Regions from separate parts of the Homo sapiens genome. Here all the other regions are linked to region 3. The links are contacts of gene promoters, found by promoter capture Hi-C in blood cells and fetal thymus (Javierre and others, 2016). All regions are on one chromosome and are shown on one strand. Each heading gives the region's core, a stretch centred on a gene start or on the middle of the fragment in contact. The rest is flanking DNA. Distances are from core to core; before and after follow the strand shown. Region 1 holds the start of HSP90AB1 (heat shock protein 90 alpha family class B member 1). Region 2 holds the start of SLC29A1 (solute carrier family 29 member 1 (Augustine blood group)). Region 3 overlaps VEGFA (vascular endothelial growth factor A).

The links. Contacts are between HindIII fragments. The CHiCAGO score rates a contact against its expected background, and 5 or more counts as called.
Region 1: a contact is called between the fragment with the promoter of HSP90AB1 here and a fragment that was not itself captured in region 3, in 2 of 17 cell types (monocytes and neutrophils). The highest score is 6.6, in monocytes.
Region 2: the fragment with the promoter of SLC29A1 here is called in contact with a fragment that was not itself captured in region 3 in 8 of 17 cell types (total CD4 T cells, activated CD4 T cells, naive CD8 T cells and 5 more); the score reaches 7.3 in total CD4 T cells.

The regions. Positions count from the first base shown.
Region 1 is chr6:44,245,708-44,248,407 of GRCh38, forward strand. It overlaps HSP90AB1 (heat shock protein 90 alpha family class B member 1), which reads left to right and starts at 1,394. Exons shown (of 12, transcript NM_007355.4): 1 at 1,394-1,488. RefSeq lists enhancers at 1-450, 1,205-1,959, 2,444-2,493 and a silencer at 654-893. The HindIII fragment of the contact is 5,727 bases long and covers 1-2,130 here.
Region 2 is chr6:44,222,145-44,224,844 of GRCh38, forward strand. It overlaps SLC29A1 (solute carrier family 29 member 1 (Augustine blood group)), which reads left to right and starts at 1,451. Exons shown (of 13, transcript NM_001372327.1): 1 at 1,451-1,497. RefSeq lists enhancers at 1,280-2,138, 2,381-2,530 and a silencer at 1,291-1,690. The HindIII fragment of the contact is 15,932 bases long and covers 1-2,700 here.
Region 3 is chr6:43,775,756-43,778,455 of GRCh38, forward strand. VEGFA (vascular endothelial growth factor A) reads left to right here. Exons shown (of 8, transcript NM_003376.6): 3 at 1,714-1,910. Among named protein-coding and RNA genes, the nearest start is that of VEGFA, 6.9 kb to the left of the region's middle. The HindIII fragment of the contact is 190 bases long and covers 1,356-1,545 here.

The sequences.
Region 1 (2,700 bases), core at 144-2,643, 470 kb after region 3:
AGCATCCCAGGGGTGGGCCAGGAAGGGGAGCAGATGGACATCTACAGGGCACAGAGCAGGGAGTGGCTATTCTCTCCTGGAGGGGTTGTGGGTCCAGCAGGCTTTCGGATGAGGCCTTGGAAAGGCAAGGACAGCTTGCCAACTGGAGGGCAGGCAAAACGGCTGAGCCAGGCCAGACACGGCAGCTCACTGGCCAGGGGCATGGCCTAGGGGCTCTGGTGCCAAGGCTGAAGGGGAACAACTTGGCCAGCCGCTCTGTGGCCGGCATCGTCACGCGGCCTCCAAGAGCTCCGGCTGCCCTGCACTGGTTCCCAGAGACTCCCTCCTTCCCAGGTCCAAATGGCTGCAGGAGCGAAGTGGGCGGAAAAAAAGCGAACCAGCTTGAGAAAGGGCTTGACGTGCCTGCGTAGGGAGGGCGCATGTCCCCGTGCTCCGTGTACGTGGCGGCCGCAGGGGCTAGAGGGGGGTCCCCCCCGCAGGTACTCCACTCTCAGTCTGCAAAAGTGTACGCCCGCAGAGCCGCCCCAGGTGCCTGGGTGTTGTGTGATTGACGCGGGGAAGGAGGGGTCAGCCGATCCCTCCCCAACCCTCCATCCCATCCCTGAGGATTGGGCTGGTACCCGCGTCTCTCGGACAGGTCAGAGCGGGTCGCCGGGTGGGGTCGCTGCAAAAACCCTGCCCCGGCCGCAGCCGGAGAGGCGGAGCCTCGCGGGGAGGGGGCGGGACCGCCGAGACAGGCCTGGAAACTGCTGGAAATGCCGCAGTGCCGCCGCCGCGCCTTCCGCCGCATGTCGGCAAAGAGTCCCCGCCAGCCCCGGCCGGCGCCCTCCCCCTACGCTGAGCTGCCCCTCAGCGCGAACCCTCCGCCCTTCCTCTACTCCTGCGAGAGTCGGGATCTGGGGCTACCCAAGGTTGGGTCCCGAATGCCAGTCCCTCTGTCGGGACGCGAGATGTGTAGGGCAGATGCTAGGAAGAAGATTGGGTCTGGGAGCGGTGGTCCGCGTGGTTAGCTGCCTCCGCTCTTTTTCGGTGTCCCCCCCAGTCCCGCCCTTGGGTGTGGGGACGCCTGCCCCACAAGTGTTTAGGGAGGTCAGTGGGTTCCTCGCCCGTAGAGACACCGTTTATGCCAAATGAGCACTCCTCATCCCCGCTCTTGATGGAGTCATGTCCTAGACGTGAAACTATGGGGCTGTGATCACAAGCAAATGTGTGGGCGGATCCGTTGCTTGGGTTCTTCCCCGCCCCCTCTTTTTTTCGGACCATGACGTCAAGGTGGGCTGGTGGCGGCAGGTGCGGGGTTGACAATCATACTCCTTTAAGGCGGAGGGATCTACAGGAGGGCGGCTGTACTGTGCTTCGCCTTATATAGGGCGACTTGGGGCACGCAGTAGCTCTCTCGAGTCACTCCGGCGCAGTGTTGGGACTGTCTGGGTATCGGAAAGCAAGCCTACGTTGCTCACTATTACGTATAATCCTTTTCTTTTCAAGGTAAGGCTGAGATCTCCGCTAGGCTTCTTTCCCTTTAGTGCTGTATTCGTGTTGTTTTTGTTTTTTTCTGTCCTTTAGGGAGCCTTAGTCTAGATGTCGGGGTGGCTTGTGGATAACGCTCTGGATTTTTATAGGGTGAGGGTAGTGGTGGGTGAGGTTTTTTGAGTCCTCCTCGGTTTTCTCTAGTGTGTTTGGGGGGTGGGGCTTTCTCTCGGCGCCTGCTGGCCGTAGCGAGGTGGGCTGTGGGGTTGGGGCAGTGGGCGGCTGGCAGCTGCACGTGGTGGCCGCGCGGCCCGGGACGCTGCCATTTTTGCCCCTCCACTTCCGGACGCGGCTACGGGGCGTCGGAGGGGGACCGCAGGGTGGCGGGGGTGCCCGCTCGGGTGACTCAGCACGGCCTTGTGGGACTGGCTTTGTCACCTCTCTTATCGGACGCGTTGTTAAAGCCTTCTTGGGTGCTTTGTTTCTGTGAGGGAGGGTTGACGGTGTGGGAAGAGAGCTTTCGGTCTCCAGCACCCGATACTCCCTCCTTCCAGATCTTTCTTGCAGTCCCGGTGGAGGAGGGGCGGGGAGGGGAGCAGGTTCTGGAAGATTCATGGGCTCCTTCCTCCGCCCTTCCTCGAGAGCTGAGATTGTTCTGGAAGCTTCTGGATTCTGGCGCCCCGCCCCAGTGCCCGGATGCTGGGGCGAGGGAGGGTGCACTGCGGCGCCCCCTCCTCGCGTGGTCCTGGCCGACGCATGTCCGGCAGTGACGAGTGTCGGCCTGGTGGCTACGGCCACCATCTTTCTTGGGTTTGGTCCTGTTCTGTAATTTTGTGCTGTGAAAGGGTCGTGGTGGAGCTTTTGGCTTAAGAATTCTTTGTCCGGATTTAATTGCTCCTCCGGTGGGTATCGTATGGATCCCAGGTTATTCCTCCCTGCCCTATGGGGCAGGAGTGTCCCGCCCTTGGACTGGTCTTAGGAACTGACACCTCAGGGGGAGCAGTTTAAAGTTAGTGCCATTTTTATCTTAAACTAGTCACTTTGATCTCCCCCAAATAAAGAACTGTAGGTAGTGATTTTCACATTTAAATTTGTGTAAGGATTACTTGGGATCTCTAGATACCTGGGTTGGACCAACATTATGATTTTTCTGCCATACTACCAGATGATGCTGAGGCTGCTGGTCACCATTCTTTAAGTAGGTGGGTTCTGTGACATTTGGTTGAAGAA
Region 2 (2,700 bases), core at 201-2,700, 450 kb after region 3:
ATTAGGGGGTTGTGGACAGACATGAAGCCACTCTCAAGTCATGGGGCTGTGCCTGGAAAAATACCACCTAAACCCATCTTCCTGCCCTCTGGTTAGGGCTGGCGGGGATGTGGGGGATGGGGGTGGGGTGGGGGAGGGTTGGGAAGGAATATGTGTGTCATCTCTGTGGGGCATGGAAACAGAAGGCTGGGGACACCCATTCTGGAGTAGCTTGGGGAGAGCCACTGACCCTAATTAGAAAAGCCACCTCTCTCCTTAGGGCCCTGTCTGTTTCTCTGGGGACAGGGTAGGACTACCTTATCCCTATGATGTGAGGTACTGCCAGTTGTTAATCAGTGTCTGTGGCTTCTCTAGGGGACAAGCCCTTCGGGTCAGTGGGCATGGGGTGGGCAGCGTGGGTTGGATTTTCTCCTCAGGACCTTTCCAGCCTTAGGATCATCCTCTAGCACTGAGTACTGCTGGAAGGGCAGGGAGTGCCCCCCACCCCACCCCATTTATTGCCCGACCAAAGAGAGGGCCTCCCTCCCCCTCCCTTGGAGGGACTTGCTGGACCACCCCTCAGCACGCCCACACCTTCCTCCTTAGCTAGTGAAAGACATACTCAGCAAGGCTTCCGCCTGTCAGGATGGCTGGGACAATAGGATTCACTGAGGATATAAGGCTGTTCCTAGCTTTTTCTCTTCCCATTCCCACCTGTGCCTCAGTTTTCCAAAGTGCTGGATTTAGAAAGGGTGAATTATGAGGGAGCTGGAGGGCTTTGCCCCACCCCCCTCCGCGCGCACACGCAAGCACAGGCAGAGGCACATACCCCCTCCAAGTCAAAGTTGTGAGTGGGGTGGTGTTTGCGCGTCTGTGGCTGGGACTGGATGTGTCAGGGATGGGAAAACCCATCATGCTGGTCACAGAAAATGCGCGGTGGGGACAGAAGCAGTTTTGAAGGAAAAGAAGAGGAGGGGGACTGAAAGAAAGAAGGGGGCGCTGAAAGGGAGGGCGCTGGGAGGAAAAAGGTGCAGTGTGGAGGAAGCGCGGCGTGGGCAGGGCTTGGGAAGGGATAACGGAATATCTGAGGTGGAGTGGGCCGTGGAGCGTCGGGGCCGGTCTGAGCAGCGGGTGTGTAAATGGAACAGTCCCGAGATGAATTTTATGGGAGTCTGCGCAGGTCCTTAATGTGTGGCTGTACCCTCCAGCCCCATGTACCCCACACGATGGACAGACAGCCTTGGTGTGGCAGGGCCCAAAGAGGTCCTATCTACCGCAATAACACGACCAGGCGGCCCTGGGGGCGCAGGGGCTCGGGGTGGGAGCGGCGGAGCGCGCGGAGTCGCCGCGGGGTGGCAGGGGTGGGCCGGGGGCGGGGCCGCGGGCGTCGGGGAGGTGGCAGTGGGCGCAGGGCGGGGCGAGCTCAGCGGAGGGCGGGTTTGAATGTGCCCCGGCGGGAGAGGGAAGCTGCAGCGAGAGCGCGCGGATCTCAGCGCGGGAGCAGTGCTTCTGCGGCAGGTGCTGCCCGGGGCCGGGGACTGGGGACTGGGGACTGCCGGGGCGGAAGACGCCGCTGCCCGCCTGCCACGGAGGGCAGGGAGGGCGGGCCTGACGGCTCCGCAGCCCGGAGAAGGGACGCCGGGTGGGGCCCCAGTGCGGAGCGTGCGGAGCCGCGCAGCACGTGGCGCGCACGGGCCAGGGAGCCTGAGGACCCTGCGGGGACCGGGACCCAAGCTGGGCGGGGCGGCCTGGCTCCCGGGCCTAAAACAGGCTGCGGTCACGTTGACCTCCGCAAGGGGCAGGCGAGTGGACGGGTGATCCCCATCGATCTGGTCGGTATCAGGGAGGGGCCGTGCCGCTGACTGCGCTGGCGGAGGGGTATGGGGATGGGGATGGGGATGGAGGCTCGCGAGCGGAGGTGCAGGCTCGCGAGCGGAGGTGCGGGGCTGTCTCTTTAACCCCGGTCTTTTACTGGCTAAACTCGTATCCCTGGCGTCTCCTTCCTGCGCACGTCTTCATTTACTGATTTACTGTGAGGGTATATGAGAGGGTGAAGACAAACAGTCCTCGGCTTTGCTTACCAGGAGAGAGCAGTCGTAGGTCAAGGCTGGCTCCAACCCTGCCCTCACACCTCTAGGGGTCTCTCTGCAGCCCTGTGGTAGTCCCTTTGCCTACTCCTCTCGGTGGCCTCCAGACCCTCCAACTTTCCTCCTGCTTGTGTAAGCTCCCCATGCCAGGATGTGTGTGATGGGGCGGGGCTGAGCTGCCTGACACTCAAGTCAGGCTGGGAATGATCTTGGTCTCCACCTCATTTTTCCCTTTAGTTGAATCAGAGTTCCCCCCACCTCCCAGTCTACAGGGCTAACTGAGAAGCAGCTTTTATACCTCTCTCCATTCCAAAAGGAGCTTGAACATTTAATATGGATTCTAGCTCCTCCACTCACCAGCTCTGTGACTTCAGGCAAGTGACTCAACCCCTCTGAACCTCAGCTGGCCCCATCTATTCAGTGCTAGTACTAGCTTATGGGTGGTTGTGAAGAAAAGACAAGAGATCTGCAGGTAGTGGCTAGCCCCATATGAAATCCTGGGAGTGGAGAATTGCAGGAGAGGTGTTGGGAGTCTGGAGGCAGGGAGGTACTCAATTTGGTGGCTACTTTCAGGGGCCCACCTCAGCAGGCCAAGGCATAGTTGGAGGGACACCAGATGCTCTGAGCTGGTATC
Region 3 (2,700 bases), core at 201-2,700:
TTGCCGTAACCCTTCGTGGGTAGAGAAGGATTCTGTGCCCATTGGTGGTCTGGATAAAAGAAATAGAGACCTCACAGGAAGCAGTGGACTGGCCTGTTTCCCCACTGTTCTTTCTGTTTTCACACCTGTGGCCTTCTCCCCACCTTCTTCCCAATCAACCTATTGTGTACATAGCCCCCCTCATTGTCCTTTATTCTTCTGGAAAGCAGACCTTGGAGGGAGGAGTGAGGGGGAGGCTCAGCTGTGGTCTCTGGGGGGTGGGGGTTGGGAGCTGGGGTGGAAGTCCACGAAGCATACACTTAAGATGCTTTGGTGAAGTTCTAAACTTCATATTACCCAGGCTGAAAAAAGAGCACTTGTTCCTAGGGCTGGAAATGGAAGCCAAAACACCACCTTTTTCAGCCTGTTTCAGCATCTTTAGAGATCAGCCCAACCCACTTACACAGTTGAGCAGAGTTGGAGGCCTAGAGAGGGGAGGGACTGGCCCAAGGTCATACCAACTCATGGCCAGAGCCTGGGCCTCCTCACTGGCCAGGTGTTATTTCTTCCCTCTGGGTAGGGAACCTATTTCAGGGACAGGATTGCTATGTGGTAGTGGTGGTGGGGTGCGATAGGCGTGGCAGGCTGGGCCACAATTTGGAGTAGTCATGCCAGAGTCCTGCATTTATTTATTCTCAAGGGCCCCGCCTCTGTGGCCCAGAATTACCCCTTCATGCTCCAGTGCACCCCAGGCTTCGTGGCCAGCCTGGGAAACTGTCTCTACCCTGGTCTCCCTTCAGATCAGCTTCTAGAAATGTTTCGTGGCTACAGTGGCAGCACTGTTTTTTCCATGATGCAAGCAGTTTGCCCTCTTGGGCGGGGTTATCAGTGGCTGGCAGGGCTGGCACAGCGTGTCCGCCCACTGCCACCTGTGGGTTCCAGGAGGGCCCAGCCCCTGTGCTGATGCCCACCACCTTCTCAGCTCATGTCTGGGGAAGAGGACTGGCAGGGGGAAAGGTGCCTCCTCCTGAAAGGTGCCTCCTCTGTTTTTGCCTAATATAGGCTTGGGAACACTTTGATGTCAGCTAATTCTGACTCCTTTACTTACTAGCTGTGCGGCCTTGGGGCAACTTACTTAGCCTCTTTGAGCCTCCTGTTCCCCATCTGTAAAATGGAATCTCAATAGTGTCTAATAGTACCATGTGGAGAAACTTGTGTGAAATGATAGCTGTGGACTACTGTACACAGTACTCAGGATGTAGTAAGTGCTCAATAAACAGCTGTTGGTATGGTTGACGTTATGGTAGTGGTTGTGGGGAGGACGTAGGAAACTGGAGACTAGCTTGGCAAAGCTGGCTCTTCCTCCTTTTAGGGAAAGCTTAGAGCATCCCCATGGGGTATACCCATACTCAGACTGTCCTCTGGCATCGAGGTTGGCCCAGGATTCAGTTCAGCTGTCACAGTGAGGTGGCGGGATCAGATGTGGCAGGCCATGTCCCTTGGAACTTGAGTACATCGTGTGATCTCTGGAATGAAAACAGGCCTTCACCAGTGTTGATGGTGGAAAGCTTAGGGAAGTGCTTCAAACACAGTAGGAGGGACTTACGTTAGATTTTGGAAGGACTTGCCTGATTCGGAAGCTCCAAAGAGTGGCATTACAGAGCTGGGTGGAGAGAGGGGCTAGCCATCTTTTGTGTCGCCCACCGGGCTCATGTGTCATCGCCTCTCATGCAGTGGTGAAGTTCATGGATGTCTATCAGCGCAGCTACTGCCATCCAATCGAGACCCTGGTGGACATCTTCCAGGAGTACCCTGATGAGATCGAGTACATCTTCAAGCCATCCTGTGTGCCCCTGATGCGATGCGGGGGCTGCTGCAATGACGAGGGCCTGGAGTGTGTGCCCACTGAGGAGTCCAACATCACCATGCAGGTGGGCATCTTTGGGAAGTGGGGCAAGGGGGGGATAGGGAGGGGGGTAACACTTTGGGAACAGGTGGTCCCAGGTCGTTTCCTGGCTAGATTTGCCTTGTCTGGCTCCTGCCCCTGAGTTGCACAGGGGAGGTATGGTGGGGTCTTGCCTTCTGTGGAGAAGATGCTTCATTCCCAGCCCAGGTTCCCAGCAAGCCCCAACCATCTCCTTCTCCCTGATGGTTGCCCATGGGCTCAGGAGGGGACAGATGGATGCCTGTGTCAGGAGCCCCTCTCTCCCTCTCTTGGAGAGAGTCCTGAGTGCCCCCCCTTCTTGGGGGCTTTGTTTGGGAAGCTGGATGAGCCTGGTCCATGGAGAGTTTAAAAAGTCTTTTGGTGTTACCTGGTAATGGGGCACATCTCAGCCCAGATAGGGTGGGAGGGAGCTGTGAAACACAGGGAGGGGGTTGCTTTCGGGTATCTACTAGGAGTCAGGGTGAAGCCTAGAGAGGATGAAAGAAGGGGAGGGGATGGGGAGTGGTAAGAACCTAGGATTTGAATTCCCAGCCTGGCCAACCCTTGCAGCCATGTCTTGGCCTCAAGTGGAACAAGGGCTCCTTGAGGCCAGCAGGGTTGGGGGAGTTGGGGTGGGCCTGAGCCTCTTTCCTGCTAGAGCTCTTGGTCCTCCCTGCCTCCACCACCCATCCCTGCTCTGCAGAACCCCTGGGTGCTGAGTGGCAGGAGCCCCAGGGTTGTCCCATCTGGGTATGGCTGGCTGGGTCACTAACCTCTGTGATCTGCTTCCTTCCTTT